Linked DNA regions of Homo sapiens: all the other regions are linked to region 2. Evidence: promoter capture Hi-C in human tissues and cell types (Jung and others, 2019). All regions are on one chromosome and are shown on one strand. The core of a region is centred on a gene start or on the middle of the fragment in contact, and the rest is flanking DNA. Distances in the headings are between cores, read along the strand shown. Region 1 has its middle 60 kb from the start of LYZL4. Region 2 holds the start of LYZL4 (lysozyme like 4). Region 3 has its middle 35 kb from the start of LYZL4.

The links. The method cuts DNA at HindIII sites, captures the fragments that hold promoters and counts their contacts. A contact is called where the count stands out against the background at its distance.
Region 1: a contact is called between a fragment that was not itself captured here and the fragment with the promoter of LYZL4 in region 2, in 1 of the 25 tissues and cell types used here (mesendoderm cells).
Region 3: a fragment that was not itself captured here is called in contact with the fragment with the promoter of LYZL4 in region 2 in 1 of the 25 tissues and cell types used here (spleen).

Annotation. Positions count from the first base shown.
Region 1 is chr3:42,348,601-42,352,402 of GRCh38, forward strand. No RefSeq gene overlaps it. Among named protein-coding and RNA genes, the nearest start is that of LYZL4, 60 kb to the right of the region's middle. The HindIII fragment of the contact is 5,410 bases long and covers 1-3,802 here.
Region 2 is chr3:42,409,116-42,412,579 of GRCh38, forward strand. It overlaps LYZL4 (lysozyme like 4), which reads right to left and starts at 1,495. Exons shown (of 5, transcript NM_144634.4): 1 at 1,302-1,495. The HindIII fragment of the contact is 17,536 bases long and covers 1-3,464 here.
Region 3 is chr3:42,373,563-42,377,074 of GRCh38, forward strand. It overlaps a transcript of LYZL4 not described here. Among named protein-coding and RNA genes, the nearest start is that of LYZL4, 35 kb to the right of the region's middle. The HindIII fragment of the contact is 7,901 bases long and covers 1-3,512 here.

The DNA.
Region 1 (3,802 bases), core at 1,046-3,545, 60 kb before region 2:
GGGTAAGGAGATTCCTTGGGAGATGAGTATCATCATTTCAGACAGCAAGCTGAACTTAGAATTAACTGAATATTTACACAAAAGAGACAGTCGAATTAGAAGAGGCAGAATTACCTTTAATTGGTAAATGTAAATGTTTTTTGCTTTTAGAAGGAAATAACTCTAAAGCACGATGTGGTCAAATGTGTGTGTGTGTTTGTGTGTGTGTGTGTGTGCGTGTACACACACAAAATTAATGCATTTCTTATTCTTGGTTAGTAAACTTTGATGCTGCTACATTTGATACAAATGATATACCGGACACTTGGTTATTATAATCTCATTCAAAATCTTATTTTATGGATTAAAAACAAACAAACACGAAAACCCTGAAGCCCAGAGCTGGTAAGGGGCAAAACACTGGAGACAGGCCTGGGTCTTCCGACTTCCTCATCAGTGGTCTCCCCACCACACAGCGTGTTCGTCCTCAGAATCCTTGGGTGTGCACTGTTCCTGGTTGATATGATGAGCTTTGATCTATTTCTTTTTCTTTTCTTTTTTCTTTTCTTTTCTTTTCTTTTCTTTTCTTTTCTTTTCTTTTCTTTTCTTTTCTTTTCTTTCTTTCTTTCTTTCTTTCTTTCTTTCTTTCTTTCTTTCTTTCTTTCTTTCTCTTTCTCTCTTTGTTTTTTGAGACAGGCTGTCACTCTGTTTTTCAGGCTGGAGTGCAGTGGTGCAGTCACAGCTCACTGCAGCCTTAATCTCCCAGGCTCAGGCAATCCTCCCACCTCAGACTCCCAAGAAGCCAGGGTCAGAAACATGTGCCACCAGGCCAGCTAATTTTTTTAATTTTTTGTAGTGTCAGGATCTCATTATGTTGCCCAGGCTGGTCTAGAACCCTTGGGCTCAAGCATCCCTACCACCTTGGGCTCCCAAAGTGCTGAGATTACAGACATGAGCCACCACACTTGGACTGATTTATTTCTAATCATAAAGCACTCAATGGTACAAAATTGTCTAGGAATAAAAGCCCAGGATGATGACAGAAACAGGGAGATGATAAATACTGACTCTTGGAGGAAGAAATGTTCTTCATTTTTCCTGTGTGGATAATCAACTGTGGGCCATCGCAGGAATGTACTCTTTTTACGGGTCTCCGGCCTCATGCCTTATGGATGAAGACTGTCGAATGTGCAGACTGCAGGGACTTTGCCTCCTCCACAGCAGAATCAACACTCAACTCAACCATCCCCTATAAACAGCTGTTGTCCCAGGCTTGGAAGATAGTAAAAATAAATCTGTGATAAGAAGCAGGCTTATCTTCAGGCCTCAGGTCCAAGGGTAAGGCTGAAGATAGAAGCCCCACCCTGTTATCGCTTGACACTCTAGAATCCCCTGGGTTTTTTAGCAAAAGATAACGCAACTGCTAAAACAACCATCACTCAGGAGACAAGGAGCCCCGGCCAGATTTTACCTGATACAAGCAGTCACTCAATATGTGCCTGTCAACACCCCCTCCCTTCCCCAGAGCCTTTCCTACCACATCCAGAGAAACATGGCTTATGGATTCCAAGGACTCTTCAGGGATAAGCCATCTATCTCTGGAGGCTTCCTTAGTGAAAGGGAACTTGGATTTCCTAAATCAGAGAATACTAGCCACTTTGATATTTCAGATCTGCCTCAAACAATCCCTGAAGGAACCATATGTGATTCCTGGAAAGCAACCAAATGTATTCTGAGGGGGCCATATGCCACAGGAAAATAAATCTGAAATACGGCATACTGTATTTTCTTCTTGGAGCTTCATAACCCACATTAGGATATTAAAGGTCCTGAGAAGTCCTGCACTTAAAGACCAAAACTTAAATACTCTTATGCAAAACAGCTTTTCCAGACTTATCTGAGCACAGAGCACAATTTTCCATAGAACGCTTCTTAACCCTCCGCTGATTTGGCCTTCTGCTAGTGTCTGACTGTATCTTTTATGTCTGGGTGGTTAGCATGAGGTTAGCACGTTGTTCCCTTTATCAGCGTTAGTAAATGAACTGAGGAGAGCAGCGCTGGCTGCTCCCAAGTGGGTCCTCAAACAACCCAAGCCAGCAAGAGTCAGACCCCTCACTGCTGAGGTGGGTGGTTTGCCCAGGACAGTCGGGTTTACACTCATTCTTCAAGCACAATGTATTTTTTATTTTTTATTTTTTTTGAGATGGGGTCTCGCTCTGTCACCCAGGCTGGAGTGCAGTGTTGCAATCTTGGCTCACTGCAACCTCTGCCTCCCGAGTTCAAGCGATTCTCCTGCCTCAGCCTCCCGAGTAGCTGGAACTACAGGCGCGTGCCACCATGCCCAGCCAATTTTTGTATCCTTTAAGTAGAGACAGGGTTTCACCATATTGGCCAGGCTGGTCTTGAACTCCTGGCCTCAAGTGATCCACCTGCCTCGGCCTCCCAAAATGCTGGGATTACAGGTGTGAGCCACCACGCCTGACTCAAGCACAATTAATACCTCCTTTTACTCTCTAAAGTGTTTTAGTTTGGACCATGAATTATATGGCACTCCTGCCACTGTGACCATCAGGAGAGCCCTTCCAAAGGCTGCAGACTGGTTGAGGCCCTCGTACTAGAACTGAGTGAGCAAATGAGCTCCAGAAGGTGTGAACCTATAAATGTGGGAGGCCCCAGAGGGGATCAGATGGCTCCACGGTGGGCAAGACATCATCCGGGAGAGAGCCAGCAGGGAGGAGGAGGGCAGGAAGCCAGGACAGTGCCTCAGGGTTGCTATTGGCAGCATTCTACTGCTACTTGGATTTTTTGAATTAAAAAATTGTACTTGAGAGCATAACACATTTTTCTCATGTTTGTGGTTTGGAAGATCATTCCTTTTCCCCTTTGATTTTTAGTAGAATTCTTGAAAATGTCTGCACCAGTTGTGCTGAAGGGAAAAACTGGTGCCATTGACCACAGTGTTTTAAGGGCAGAAGGACAGTCCTGGGCCTGGGCTGTGGAGCTGGGGATGTGTTGGACAATTCCCAAGGGGTGGATAATAGCTCGGGGGGAGAGGCAGGACAAGTGAAGTTCCGTGATAAGAGGGGGAACTGAAGCTGGACCTTGAAAGGTTGGGGAGGACTTGTGGAGATGAGAGTGGGGAAAGGTAGGTGTCCCAGACAGAGGGAGCAGCATAAGATACTGTATGAGTTTCCTATTGCTGCTGTAACAAATTATTGCAAACTCAGTGGCTTAAAGCAACCCAGATTTACTATCTCACAGTTCCGGGGGTCGGAAGTCTGAAATGGATCTCACTGGGCTAAATCAAAGTGTCAACAGGCTGTGTCCCCTTATGGAAGCTCTAGAATTGAGTTCTTGCCTTTTCTAGCTTCTAGAGGTAGCCCACGTTCCCTGGCTCAAGGCTCCCTTCCATCTTCAAAGCCAGCAACAGCTGGTCGAGTGTTTCTCACATTGCATCACACTGACTGACCACTGTCACCTCCGTCTCTCATGTAAGGATCTGGTGATTACACTGGGACCCCTGCTGCATAATCCAGGACACCCTCCCCACTTCAAGATCCTTAATTTGACCACATCTGCAGAATCGCCTTTGCCATGTGAAGTAACACATTCACAGGCTCCTGGGACTAGGGAGTGGATATCTTGGGTGGGGGGCATTATTTCGTCTACCACACATGCCAAGTAAGGACAGTGTCCTTGCAAAATAGGAAAAGTGAATAGTCCATTTGCCTGGATTGGAAGGAATGTATGAGGAAAGATGTGGAACCAGAAGTATAGACTGGAGATTCAGGAAGGGAGAGAAACGTTTCCTCGATTCTCTTCA
Region 2 (3,464 bases), core at 245-2,744:
GGTCCAAGTTCCAGCTTTACCCCTCAGTGGCTGAGATATCAGTGATCCCAGCAGTAATCTTAGACAAATTGCTCAACCTCTTGATTCCTCAGTTTCCTCATCTGTAACACAGATTAAAACAGTACTTAATTAATTGTGTTGATTTGAAGAGTAAGTGAATTAAATATGCACAGCACTAGATTTTACTTGTATGGACATTTTTCTTAGCTCTGGTTGCACCCCTGCCCTTTTATACTGATGTATCAAACCTGTACATTGTGCACATGTACCCTGGAACTTAAATTATAATAATTAAAAAAAGTGAATCTCAATGCATGTTTCATTTCCCAACAGAGCAAACAACATTTTCTGGTAATGTCTGTCTTCCACAGGGCAGGCATCATCTCAACTCGTAGAAGGCATACTGAGTCCTCTCCTCCCCTCTCCCCCAGAAGCCAGTTCATCAGGTTCATCAGGGTGTGCCATCTACAGTTCTTCCAGAACCTATTCGCCTCTCATCTTTTCTGCCATCATCCTAATCCAGACCACCATCACCTCTAAGGTGGAGACTTTCTAACTACACTCCTCTACTACATACTCCTCTCTGTTCCCCTAAACCCACTGCCCACACAGCAGTTGGAAAGGCATTTTATAAAGCATGTGTCCAGTCACATCACTAATCTCCAGTGGATTCCCCTTGCACTTTGAATAAGGTCCCAACTCCTCAACCTGGCTGACAAGACTTTCTGATGCAGCCACTGAGCACCTCTCCAGTCTGAATTTACATCACTCTCTCCTTTGTTCACCTTCACTCTGCCATAGTCACCTTGCACATTTCTTTTCCTTGAATATGCCAATTTCATTCCCACCACAGGTCCTTTGCACCAGCCATTCCTTCTACCTGGAACATGACTGCCCTGACCACCACATACGAGCTCACTACCTCAAAGAAGATTCCTTGATCACTGCCCCATCAAAGAAGACGGTCTTTATTTTCTTCATACCATTAATCAATATCAGGAATTCCATTGCTCATTTATCTGTTCACTTGCTTATTTTCTCTCTCCCATACCTGAGTGTAAGCACCAGGAATGCAGAAACCTGGTCTGGTTTTTTCTCTTCATTATCCCCAGAACTCAGAACAGAACCTAATACAGAGTAGGTGCTCAATGAAACTTTGTTGAATGAATGAATGAACAAAAACCTCCTCTTCCCAACTGAACTGTCATCAAATAAGCAATAAGTGAATTTGCTGATGAGCTTCTCCTGCAGCTGGGTATTGTCATGCCCGTTACCCTCCTGCCCACCATATACCCGCCTACCAGTCCACCAGCCCTTCCAAAGGCTGGCTTTTGGTGCCTTTCCAAGGGGAGGGGAAGAACAGCCACTGCAGCAGCTTCGACGTGTGTTGCAGGGAAGTTGCTCCACCTACATTTGGTTCCTTGGGTTTTTCAGATGCTACTTCATTAATCATCCACTTGTCTGCACCCAAGAGTTCTCCATGACATGCTCTTCTAGAATCCTTTCTATGACATCAGTTGCTATGCACCAGGATATTCTGAAAAAGGGAGGGTCTGTCACTGTCACATTTGTATTAGTTTTCTATTGCTGCTGAAATACATTACCACAAATTTAGTGGCTTAAACAACACAATTTATTATCTTAAAGTTCTATAGCCCTGAAGTCAGAAATGGGTCTCACAGGCCTAAAATTAAGGTGTCAGCAGGGCTGTGCTCCTTCCCAAAGGCTTTAGAAGAGGATTCATTCCCTTGCTCATTGAGGTTGTTGGCAGAATAAAGTTTCTGCAGTCACAGGGCTGAGTTCCCTGTTTCCTTGCTGGCTGTCGGCTAAGGGCCATTCCCAGCTGCTAAGCACTGTCTGCATTTCTTAGCTCTGTTGCCTTCCTCTATCTTCAAAGCCAGCAAGGGTGAGTCAAACCCTCTCACACTTTGAATTTCTCTTGCCTCTTCTTCTGTCATTGTATCTTTCTGACCCTCTTTTCTTCCTCCCCTTCCCTGTCTAAGGACTCATGATTAGATTGGTCCAGCCGGACCATCCAGGATAACCTCTGCTTCTCAAAGTCTTTAACCTTAAACACATCTGCAAAGTCTCTTTTGCCATGCAAACTAACACATTCAGAGGTTCCAGGGGTGAGTGTTACCGAACAAAAGTGATTCAATGCATTGGAAGCCAACGCTATGACACTGGGTGTTTGAGAAAAGGCTTTTTATTGAAATATAAATATTTAATTTTAAATATATAATCAATATATTGTCGATTTTCAAGGAGACAGCAGTGTCAACCTCAAATCTGTCTCCTGTGATGCAGTATTTTTATTAGAAAAAGTTTAGGGGATTCTAAGATTAGTAGGTGATTTGGTGGAAGAAAGGGAAGGGCTGGAAAGTCCTGGGTCATATGCAGTTATCTCTTCATACTATTTTATGGGTCCCCTGGGCAATTATGGGGAAAGTTAGTATAAAGCACATGGTGGAAATTTAGTCTGTGACATCAGCAAGCTGGTTCTGCCTAGACTCTGGTCGGCCATCTTGGTTCCAGCTGATTTCAGCCAGTTCTTATATCTCATAAGCAGAGGGAGTTTCAGTATTTCAGCAAGTTGTTTCTTTTCTTACCTGCCATCCTGCAAACTCAAGAATTTCTGTTAGTCATTGGTTTTTTTAACTCTTTGGGGCATGGCTTCATTAGGACACCTTTGGGAGATCAGTATTCTGCCTGCTACAGCATTCTTCCGGGCCCTCATAGGACTGCCTTCTAGGTGGAACAGTGGGAGAAGCCCTTATGTAGCTTTCCTAGTCACCAGAGGGCCATGGTCAAAGACATCCTCTCTTGGGGCCTGGGCATCTTCATCTGTGACTTGAGGGCATCAGACTGGGTTATCTTTAAGGTCCTTTTCAGCTCCAAAAGTTAAGAGATATTGAGATGATTGAGGGCAAATTGGCCTTTTGAAAACACATTAGTCTGTCTGGCTGACTCAATTAGAACTGGTAATTAGTCGATTAATTGAAAATTAATAATGTAAAGAATCATAAAAGAAAAACTAAAACCAGGCCATAAACGCTGAGGCTTAAATCCATACATGCCTATTTTCTCAACAGTCTTTAGTGTTGGCTCAGCTGGAGGCTGGTTGGCAGAAAACTAAGGTGTTTTCACAGAAATCAGTTAATCGAGAAACATTCCATCTGCAGAAACTCCCACCTCTGAAGGCATAATAGTGGAAATATTCTCCTCATCCACAGCGGTAGACAGTTTGAAAAAAAAAAAAAAAAGGCCACAATTTTACAGTCTTCTCTGTATCTGTGCCCCTTGGCTTTGCAACTTAGCTGCTCCCATCAAGGGATGCCATCCACTCCCCACCCCAGGGGTTGGGTTGGCCTGTCTTGCTCTGACAATAGATCACAGTGGAATGAGGTAGTACTAATCCTAGGCCTCAGGAAGCCTGATGGCCTCTGCTCACCCTGAGCTCTGCC
Region 3 (3,512 bases), core at 278-2,777, 36 kb before region 2:
GTGCAGGTCCTTGGGGGAGAACCTTAAGAACGACCACTTTTCTCATTGCCGGCAATGACTACAGATTGGGCTAAGCTGAATAGCACACTAAGACATGCACAATCAGGAAGGGATGAAGAATGGAATTAAGAAGCCCTGTGCATCAGAAAGTGGCTGAATTCTGTGTGAATCCTCCCAAAGCACACCTTCCCTTAAAGGTCAGTAGATAGAAGCTTTTTGAGATGCCTTAAGCTGTTAAAGTCCAGTGTCAGAAATTCCCACTGGGTTTGAATTTCAATGGATTACTTGAGTTCCCTGAATGCTTTGCAGACAGAAATAAAAATACATGTATATATTTGCTAATATGTATATATATATGGGTTAGGCTTTGTGACTTCTAAATGTAAGGATAATGAAATGAAAAAGTAAGACCAAAATGCCTCATCATCCTCATGGAAAAAACACCCAGGAAAATAACTTTTAGAAACCGAGTTCCCAGTAGAGCGTTCCTCGAGGTTTATAAATTTACTGATAATAGTTATCATTATTATCACAATGATAATTCTCAGTATTGCTATTTTAGCAAGTACCATTGTTTAAGAACCTTCCATCTGCTCCTTATCTTGCTTTTCATATATCTTATTGCATTGAAAGCTCAGGAATTAAGGTGTGAGGAAACAAAGGCACTGAAAGGTTGATCGATTTGCTGTGGGTTGCAGAGCAAATCAGTGGTAGAGCTGGGATTCAGCAACAGACTTTTCTGGTTCCAAAACCTGTACTTTAAATTATTCACTCCAAGTGCAGGGGGTGACATAGTTGAAATGGATTTCTTTTTAGTGGTAAAATGTTATTCTTGTAAGTACTTCTTGACCTCTTCATCTATTCTTCACTGTAGTCAGAATTTTCATCCCCCACAGCACAGTACTTTTCACCCAGCTTTGGGATTTAGTGATGGTTTCATGCCAACCAACTGTCGAGGCCACCGATATCCTGAGCCAGTATGAATTAATTTGAAGTTACACTTACGACTTGGGAGATTTAATATCAAAATCAGGATTTCTAGCTGTTTTTGAAAAATTACAGAATCAACAACACTGATACGGCCCTCCCTTCAGCTCACCTCAGTCCCCACCTGTCCCTGCTGTATCCTCGCCACTGGTGCCAAGTGACAGGAGCCACAGAGCATCACACCTTGCATTGTGTATTTTCTTACAATAAATTAAGTTTTTCTAATTGCTCCTCAATTATTTTCTCTCCTTTCTGGCATTCATAGTATTTGACTTTTTTTAAAACTTTTTTGAGACAGGGTCTCACTCTGTTGCCCAGGCTGGAGTGCAGTGGCATGATCACAGCCCACTGAAGCCTCAACCCATCCTCCCACCTCAGCTCCCCTGAGTGGCTGGGACTAAAGGGGTGCACCACCATACCTAGCTAATTTTTTGTATTTTTAGTGGAGACCAGGTTTCACCATGTTGCCCAGTCTGGTCTTGAACTCCTGGGCTCAAGCAATTCGCCCACCTCAGCCTCCCAAAGTGCTGGGATTACAGGTGTGAGCCACTGTACCTGGCCTAGTATCTGACTTTTTGGTGCCTAAAAATCAAGGATCCCCCCGCCTCCACAAGCAGTTCTTCAGCTACACCAAGAGCCATTCTGAGTTCTATCCTGTCTTCTCTCCTGTGCTCTTATCCTGCTGAATGGCACAAAGACACCAACTCAGCTTCAGACAGACTTTTGTAGAATAGTCGATCTAACCGTTGTTATTGTGACATCCAGCAACTTCCTCAGCCTCTCTAGCTTCTGCTTTCCTTATTTGGAAAACAAGCCCTGGTTACTTTACCTAAAGACAGTCAAAAGTCAAGCCAAATGGCTAAGTTTGCCCAGTACACTGGGAGCCATCCTGCCAAATGAGCGAGCCACCAAATTATCTGATTCTTTTAAGTATTCTGTTCTCATTAGCCAGCTTTCATCTTGTCTACATAATAGGATTTTATGAAATATGCAACTTGTGTCTGCCTTAGCACTCTGCTCTTCGACTGAAGACTGAAGTACCCAGAGAGAGGGAAGCTGAGGGAAGAGCCGGGGAGACAGGACTAGAGAGGCAGGCTGGGGGCTGAGGAGGCATAAGGAGAACACATTCATGAAAATATGCTCTGTAATATGAACAAGAAAGCATGAGGAATATGCTCATCAGAGTTCTCCTTATTAAAGAATATATTATGCTTCTCTTTAGCCCTTTGACTCCCCCTCTTTATCTTCAGGCTCCACCAGCAGCAGCAGAAAGCAGGAGCGGGGACATTGGATGTTCTTTTAAGACATTGTTATAAAGATGGAATGAATTCAGTCAATTGGGAAATATACTAGTACTTTCCTTACAGGATTGTGGGAAGGATTAAAGGAGCTAATGATTCTGAGGTGTGTATCGACAGCACCTCACAGTGACTCCTGTTATCACACTACTCAGAATGGCACCGCCTGCCACCCAAATCCACAATCCTCCCCACCTTCATGTGCCATCAAAACCAAGATTCTACCCACATAAGGGCGACTAAAACAGACCCCTCAAGGTTGTGGAAATGAAGGAATTAAGGATGTCCTGAGAGTTAAGCCATAAAATCAGCTCATTAAGGAATGTGCAGAAGTGCAGAGGCCCAAGAACAAGTTCCAGGCCTGCAGTGGAATCCACCCTTCGCAGGGAGAATGGGACCATTGATGGAGGCCATGGCTGACCAGGGAAGCCTGAAGGTGGGGAAGTAGAGGCTGAACATTGTTGGTGCCCCCCCACCCTCTGCCCTGGGAAGCCTGGGGCCATTAAAACATCACTTTACATCAATAGCCCTTCATTGCCAGTTCCTGGGTAGGAAGCCACTCTGGGATAACATGGCTTCCCAAGATCAATGCCTCCAGGGAGAACATGTGCTCATCTGGCTGATGTGAACCTCCAGACTGCTCAGAATTAGTCAATTTTCTTTCCAGTTTGTTCTCAGGTCCCTCAGTGGTTGTTTATTCAAGCATCCAATAACTTCTGGAACTTAAAAGATTGAATTTCTGAGCTTACATGGCTGAGGGCCAGACCCCAACGAGTGACTCATTCTCCAAAGTCAGTTTCCTCTGGCGGGGGCGGATCTCTCTATATGAGCAGCACCTGGCCCTATGTGGCTGTGGGCACTTCCCACTGGTAGCCTCAACCACCTCAACAGGGTGCCTGCCCTGGAATAAAAGGTAGGGAGCCATACTGCTGCAAAAGAGAATCCGGTTTCAAGGTCCCCATGAGGCACCAGCAAATTTTGTTCTTGATCAGGACTTATGGCCTTATCTAATAATGTTGGCAAGGAAAGGGGAAAGTTTCTTCCTATATTAGTTTTAAAATCTAATTGAAGACAATTCTGTTGCCTAGACAATGGCATATTAAATCATTCAGCAAAAGCAAGGATTTATTAAAAATTGTCCTTGATCTATAGAACAAGGGAATGTAATAAATCTTCCAGAATTTTTAGCCATGCTTACTACACATCATGCTCTAAAATTGCATTAGG